Linked DNA regions of Homo sapiens: region 2 is linked to region 1. Evidence: promoter capture Hi-C in human tissues and cell types (Jung and others, 2019). All regions are on one chromosome and are shown on one strand. Each heading gives the region's core, a stretch centred on a gene start or on the middle of the fragment in contact. The rest is flanking DNA. Distances are from core to core; before and after follow the strand shown.

What was found. The method cuts DNA at HindIII sites, captures the fragments that hold promoters and counts their contacts. A contact is called where the count stands out against the background at its distance.
Region 2: a contact is called between a fragment that was not itself captured here and the fragment with the promoter of LRRC3B in region 1, in 2 of the 25 tissues and cell types used here (mesendoderm cells and thymus).

Annotation. Positions count from the first base shown.
Region 1 is chr3:26,621,476-26,625,354 of GRCh38, forward strand. It overlaps LRRC3B (leucine rich repeat containing 3B), which reads left to right and starts at 1,297. Exons shown (of 2, transcript NM_052953.4): 1 at 1,297-1,762. It overlaps LRRC3B-AS1 (LRRC3B antisense RNA 1), which reads right to left and starts at 1,288. Exons shown (of 4, transcript NR_183726.1): 1 at 1,126-1,288. RefSeq lists enhancers at 631-1,146, 2,739-3,708. The HindIII fragment of the contact is 7,905 bases long and covers 1-3,879 here.
Region 2 is chr3:26,537,194-26,540,929 of GRCh38, forward strand. No RefSeq gene overlaps it. Among named protein-coding and RNA genes, the nearest start is that of LRRC3B-AS1, 84 kb to the right of the region's middle. The HindIII fragment of the contact is 3,824 bases long and covers 1-3,620 here.

The sequences.
Region 1 (3,879 bases), core at 47-2,546:
GAAACAGAGGTGGGTGGTCAGTGGGAGAAGGTTGATTGTCTAGAGACCAAAATGAATTAAATACTTTATTACCTTTCCAGTAAAGGGGCTGTGAGTCTAACTGTATGTGTGGTTCCCTCCACCACACCCTAAATCAAAAGTTCCATCCCTGGAGTCTCTTTAATTCTAGAGACACTGAGATTTAGCTCATACAGAAGGAGAAAATGACCTTCAACTGGATAAGCTTTCCTTGAGTACCCATTAGATACAAAACACTGCTGGATGTTGCAGTGAGAACAAACAAACAAAAAGCACAGGGAATACTCATATGTGAGTGAAGAGATAAATCTATAAATATATAAGTTCCGCAAGTGATTGGCAAATAAAATTCTGAGAGGGCAAAGAGAGGGGAAAGATTTCTGCCTCGAGTCAGAGGACTGGGGTAGCGGAAAAAAGCTTTAGAAAAAAAGGTGGTATTTGTAGAGTCTGGAGAGGCGGGTTCCTCTGCCCCAAACTGGTGTCTACTGCAGATATGGTAAATAATTAAAATCATGAAATAAGAACATCACTAAAACCATTAATTTGACTTACTCTTAAAACACACGCGCGCACGCGAGCGCGCTCGCACACACACACACTGGCGTGCGCGCGCTTTTTTAAGGGGCCTATAGACTCCATTTCGGCTGCAGGTTAAAGTCATCCCAGGAAGGAGAAAGGAAAATTGAATTCCACCTTCTTCTGATTTAGAAAGCTAGATTGGTTGAGGATCGGGATCAGGGACCACAACTCAACCCCGAAACTTTGGGCTTCCAGAACTGCAGGGGAAACTGATTCTGAGATCAGACAACGGACCCTGGGGCGGGAGGGGGGTACCTTATTCATAACCCTCCCTCACAATAGCGGAGCACAGTACTCAGCACCCAGTAAACACTCATTTGTCGAATTGATTTTAAGCCTCCGCTTTTCCCCCAAGGAGGGCAATCAATCCCTTGCACGTTTTGCTCCTTTCACCAGCTTAATTCAGCTCTGATCTCAGTAGTTAGAAAAATAGGAGAAAGAATGGGGCCATAGCCTGCTGCAAGTAGAGCTGTGTAAGGGGGTGCGAGGAAGGCAGGCGAGAGCAGCAGAGGGAGTTAATACTCCTACCTCAGCTGGTCTCCGGCAGCCAACGCTCAGCCCCCGCCTCCTCTCTCCATTCCGGACCCCGCAACCGCGAGGCGAGAGAGCAGCGCCGGCGAGGCACTGGCTGGGCTCTGACTGTCACGTTAATTCCCTGCTGCTTTTTCTAGTCCCCAGCCGCCTCGCCCCTCCTCCCTCATTCCCAGCCTGGGTTTGGAGGCGATTTCCCTCTATTGACTGAGCCGACTGCATCTCTGGGCAAGCGGCGCTTTGCCTCTCTCCTGTCTTTGTCTGCTCTTCCTGCAAGGCTACGGCGCCTGGAGCAGGGTCTGCAGCGGCCGCCGCAGCAACGCGAGCCAAGTCGTGCCCCGCACGGCCGCCCGGGGCCGCACCCTCGCTCGGTGGCGGCGCCCGAAGACGCCAGCCGCGCCACGCACTGCCTGCGTCCCGCGCCCCAGCCGCCGCGCACCAACGCCGCCGCCTTCGCCGGGAGCCAAGCCCGCCGGGCCGGCCCGGTCCCAGGTGGGCAGCTCGGCTTGCAGCTGGTTGGAGGTGGCGGCCGCTGCAGCCCTGGCAGCGGGCACACCCCTAAGCATACGCACCCAACGCCTCCTCCCTGAGCCACGAGGATGGAGCAGCCACCCCGGCCCGGGACTGGCGCAAGGTAAGGTGCAGCCGCCTGTTGCTTTTCGCAGAGCGCGGGATCATCCCTCTGCCCGGGTACCTAGGCCGTCCCTCCAAGGAACAAGTAGAGGAGAACTATTACACCAGTTCTAAGCCGTGCCTGTCTAAGCCTCCCTGATCCCTTTTGCGCAGACCCTGGGAGAGACCTCCTCCTGGAGAGAGAGAGTCGACCCTCTTCGCTCCTGTTCAGCCGGCTGCTATACAATAGTCTGCAAACTTTTGTGACCCCTTCCCTGCGCGGTGCTCACCCCGTGCTGTGCAACTTGCAGGTTTAGTTCTTGCCCTTCCCCCAGCCCCTCTTGCCATATGCATCTGCCCATTTCTCTCTGTGTGTTCTTGCCAGTCGACTTTTCACTCCCCGCAGCTCTGGCTCCTGAGGCGAGGGTTTGGGACCCAGCAGTGCTCGTCCTGCCTCTAGGAGCTGGGTAGGGACAGAGAAGGTGAAATAAGAGAGGTGGGACATGGAGGATGGCTGCGGCCACCCCTGAAGCTTCGTCCAGCGCGATGGGAGTCAGTCCATCCTTGCACACGCCACCCCCAACTCGGCAATGAAACCTTTGGAGTGGCTTGCGGCTGTGCGCCGTGGGAACTGCAAGTGCAGATATGGGTGGGTGAAGTAAGTGGCTCAGGGAGGGAAAGGCTGCTCGTGCGGTGGAGGAGGAAGCTGAGGGTCGGGTAGATCTGCCCACGGTTGAGGGAAATGAAAAGGTACTGCTAATGTGGGCGAGCGGCCAGCCCTGAGAGGCCATCTGACGAAGAGGAAAAGGGATTTGAGTCCGGAGGGCGCTGGCCTGGGTATGTAAATACAGATGGGGGAGGGGCTGGGTACCTGGGGGCGCGTGGAGACAAGGAATGGAGCCCCGGAATGCCGGGCCCTTGGGTACTTGGGAAGGCAGGCTGCTGAGTGCCTGGGATGGGGCGATCTTCCTCCCCAGAAGCAAACAAACCTCCCCGCGAGAATCTGAATGCGTTGGCATCTTGGGTGGTGACTGAATGGTCAGATCGTGGACTAGGGATGCTTCTCCAAGCTCTAAGAGGACCATAGTCTGCTCTCTTCTCTGGCACCCGCTTGCTTCTACGCTCCTTCACCTCTGCAGCCAGGTCGGTAGACCCACGCCCACCTTCCCTGCCAGGCACTCAGGAGTCAAGGATGTTTCCACAGCCGCAGTGTAGGAAGGGGACTCCTGCCTCCCAGGGGGAGACGTGTGTGCGGGGTAGAGGGGAGTCCCCAGCGCGCGGCGAGTAAACAGGGGTCCAAAGTGGTTGGAGGAGAGCGCAGGAGCGGAGGCTGCGGTGGGAGCCACTTTCCCCCGCCCCTCCACAAATCGCACCTGGGCGGAGCGAGGGAGTGGGGGGAGCCCTGTGCTGCGCCCGGGAGGCTGGGGAGCGCAGAGCTGGAGGGCGTGCAGGGAAACGCAGAGCTAGGAGGTGTGGGCCTCGGGTGAGGGGAGACCCAGCTCTTAGACCTGGGAGCCCAGACAGAGGTGGATCTGCCCACCTTGCAGCTCCCAGGTAGATTCTTCTTGTGGCTCCAGATGCTCTGGCGAATGCAGGAGGGGGAGGCTCTTTTCTCCTTTGCACCCCAGCAATCTGGAGTGCAAGACCGTTTGCGGGAGGGGGCTTAGTCGGCTGTTTCGAAGAGGCAGCCTCCCCTCCCTTTTATCCATCAAGCCCCCTATTTCCTGGTGGGGGCACAGTGACTGCCAAGGCCAGTAAGCACCTCACTTAACCCTTCTCTCCCTGAGGAGGTGCATGCTCCTCTCCCAGAGGTGCCTTTGGCTGAGAGTGGATCCCTGGTTCCTAGTAGCCCTATAGGGAAACATTTGGAGGTTGGGTGGGTTTGGAACCCTGTACAACCTTTAGGTCCTCCCTGTTCAGACCTTCCACGTGCAGGCTTTTCTTACTTTCTCCGCGGGTGCCCTACAGAGGACTCCTGCTGCCTTGTACCAGTTGGGAAAAAGCAAAATTCAGAGCAGTTCCTTTTTCTGGGTCCCTCGCCTTGGCCACATCGGAGGAAACGTCGACTCGCCAGGGCTCCCGGGAGAAATCCCGAGGTCAGTCCCTCCCATTCTGGGGCACCCCTGGAGCAGCTAGCTC
Region 2 (3,736 bases), core at 459-2,958, 84 kb before region 1:
GACATGACAACTAAATGTAATGTGTGATACTGGAACAACAAAAATAAGCTCATTAGGTAAAAACTAAAGAAATTGGCATGAAGTATAGATTTCCATTAATAATAGTGTACCAGTATTAGTTCATTGATTGTGACAAATGTACCATATTAATGGGAAGACTGGGTATGTGGTAGATGGGAACTCTCTATGCTATCTTCCAAATTTTAATACATTTAATTTAAATATACTTTATCTGACCAAGTATTATCAAATTTTTCCCCAAATGGAAACCACGGTTTGTACCCTGTGCTCCCTCCATTTTCTTCCTGGTTATAGCTAAACATATGCTGACCCACACGTGTGTTATAAAGTCATGTGATGAACAGGTTAGATTTCAAGTAATTATTTTAATAATTTGAATTAAAAAACAGAATGAGTTTGGCAATGAGCAGCAGAAATGAAGGGAAAAGGAGGTGTAGCCAAATTTATTTGAAAGTAGAAGTTATTAGGGAGTCAAGAGGATCTGCAAGAGCAAATGAAAAAATCAATAGGAAGGGAGAGAACCAAATGCACAACAAGGAAAGCAGATATGCTCTGAAAAAAAGACCAGGTGGTCCATGAAAGAGGGAGACACCAATCTTTGGATCTGCCTCAATTTCCAGCTATTTTCTTGCCCAAACTCTGCCTTTATTTTTACCACAAAACCTTCTTTAGGCTGGGCATGGTGGCTCACATCTCTAATCCCAACAGTTTGGGAGGCTGAGGCAAGCTGACTGCTTGAGCCCAGGAGTTTGAGACCAGCCTGGGAAACATGGCAAAACCCCATCTCTACAAAAATTAGCCAGTGGTGCACTCCTGTAGTCTTGGCTGCTTGGGAGGCTGAGGTGGGAAGATCACTTGAGCCCAGACTGAGCTAAAATAAGCCATGATTGTGCCACTGCACTCCAGCCTGGGTGACAGAGCCAGACTCTGTCACAAAGAAAGGCAGAAAAGAAATTAAGAGAGAGAGACAGAGGGAAGGACGGAAGGAAGGAAGGAAGGGGAAGGGGAAGGGGAAAGGGAAGGAGAAGGGGGAGGGGAAGGGGAAGGGAAGAAAGAAACTGTCTTTGTCTGGTGATCTGGGGTCTGATGTTTGCATTATACTTGCCAAAACCAAATAAGATCATTGTGGGGCTGAATTTTATAGATACTTTTTGTTCATATTGAACTCTTATTTCTACTCTCTCTATTGAGTAGAGATAGTAGTCTCCCAAAGACTGCTGCCCTTGGATAATAAACAGACTCTGATCATTTATTAGCCAATAACTCTAGAAGTTGTCTAAGACAAGGGAACTAAACTCCTTATTCAATCCCCTGGGATAGTGTTTCTTGGGCAGAGAAGGGGCTTGCAGAATACTTGGAGTTGGGGGATAATTATATAATAGCATTCAGTTGCAATGGATTCTTGCTGGTAAATGTTAAATTATCATTCTTGAGCAAGTGTTCTCACAGAAGCATAGACTTGCAGTATATCATGGCTCATTTTTTAGTGAAAACAAGTAAATGATTATGAAAAACTAACTAATATGCATGATTGTACCCCAGCTCCCTATAACCCTTCCCTGCTTTTGGCTGGAAATGTTAATTCATAACTGAGAAATCACAACCAAATAAATGAAACTCTTTGAGAGAACCATTCTTCTTCTTTATTGCAGCATGCTGAAATCTTCTTTATGGAATAGCTCAAGGAAGCACAAGTAGCAAATCAGATACTTTTACCACCCCTGAGAATTTTTTAAGCTCCCCATGAATCTGAAGCTAATTTACAAGTTTTGATTGTTCTCAATCTGAAATGAAGCTCAGGTAGGTTAGGCAAACGGTCTCACTGGCCCAATTTCCTTCCATTCCACATAGGCAACATCCTTCCTATTTGGAGAGTATGTTGATAATGTTTTGTCACTAATGATTCTGGCCTGCTGAGAGTCCCTGAAGACAACAATGGTTTTTAAAGGGAGTTATAATTGTTAGACTTTGCTAATGCTCCTTGAGATCCTTGTTGTGCCACAGCAGTTACCTAATATTCCCCAATATCCCCATAGAGAATTAAACCAAAGCCTTCTGGTGCCATCTGGTATAATAACTGGAAAACTGAACAAAACCTTTAGTATGAAGTTGCAATGCAATTACAGTCTAACCTAAGGAAGGAAAAAAGGAACAATAATTTAATCAAGAACAAACATATTTTTTAAAAGTCTTTCTATCCAAAACTTTGTTAGTGAGAAGAACATAAGCATCAGGAAAATCATAGTCTCTGACCTCAGTGAACTCACAATCTAGCGGGAAAAGCAGAAGCATAAAGTACAAACTAAGCACAATCAGAAAAGCTGCTCAATTGTGTTCAGGTGACAGGGGCCTAGGGATAAAGCTAATAAGAAAGGACTAATACTTTAGGAATAAAGAATGGGACAGAGAAAGCATTCGAGATAAGATAACACTAAATTTGGGACCAACAGATGAGTAGAAGTCTTCCAAGAGAAAAGACCAGGGAATGATATTCTAGGGAAAGGAAATAGAAAAATCAAAGATATGGAAGCATAAAAATGCTTATATGTCAGGGAAAAGTTGGATAATATCATAGGGCTAGAATAGTTCTACTTGAAGTGTGATCCATGAACCAGCAGGATCATCACCTGGGAGCATATTAGAAATGCCAATTATCAGACCACAATTCTTATTGCCTGAATGAGACTCTCTGGAAGAGGGATTTAGCAGTCTAATTTAGCTCTTTGGGTGATTCTGACACAGGTTTGAGCAGCACTGGACTGAAACACTAACTGATTTTGGAGATGGACTACGGGGAAGGGGAGCAGGGTAGATTGGAGGTGGGGCCATGTCTTGATGAATCATGGTCATTAATTAAGCATAATTAAGCTAACTGAAAATACAATGAATGAAATAAATGATTGGTTTTGAATAAATAGCACCATGTCACCCAAAAATAAACATAATATCAGGATGTGAATGTCACAGTGATGATCCAAGGACGATAACTAACTAGATGTGTCCACCTTACAAGACAGAGCAGAGCTAGCTGAAATTAAATGTTGAGAGAGGGAAATTGTAGAAGTGGCTGAAATATCCACTATAAAATATATTACAAAAGAGATGTGAATTGAAATAAAACTAGAATTTATCTTTCCTTTGCCAATTTTTCTCAAGTATTCCTTTTATTCAACATGTGTTAAATACCTACTATATGCTAGGTACTTTGCCACATACTGCGGACATAACCCAAATGTGATGGTCCTTGGCCTCAAGAATGTTATCATCTATTGCAAAATGACTATTAGCACTTATGGAGTGCTTACAAAGTGCCAATCACTGTCTAACATTGGAAATAATCTTATTTTCTGAGCAACATCCCTGAGTAACTTACCTGAGTCTGTTTGATTCCAAAGCTTACATTCTTTTTCTAATACCATGTTGTTTATTTGCATATGGCCAGAGGAACTTCATTATTATTATTAACAATGTTACTAAATACTTCTCTAGTCTAAATGGATCAAAGTTGCTATACTATTGATAGGCCAAGGCCCTTGATGATGGACATGCCATGTATTCCTGCACGACTGTGAAATTCATTTTCGCCTCTTCTGGATATGATAAATCTTGTTTCTCCCCATTTGAGCAGGTTGGTGTATCTTCTTCACCATTTTTGGCTTTGCTGACTCTTGGATCTCTCCCATAGTCATTAGTAGAGTGTTCTCCTTCTCTCTAA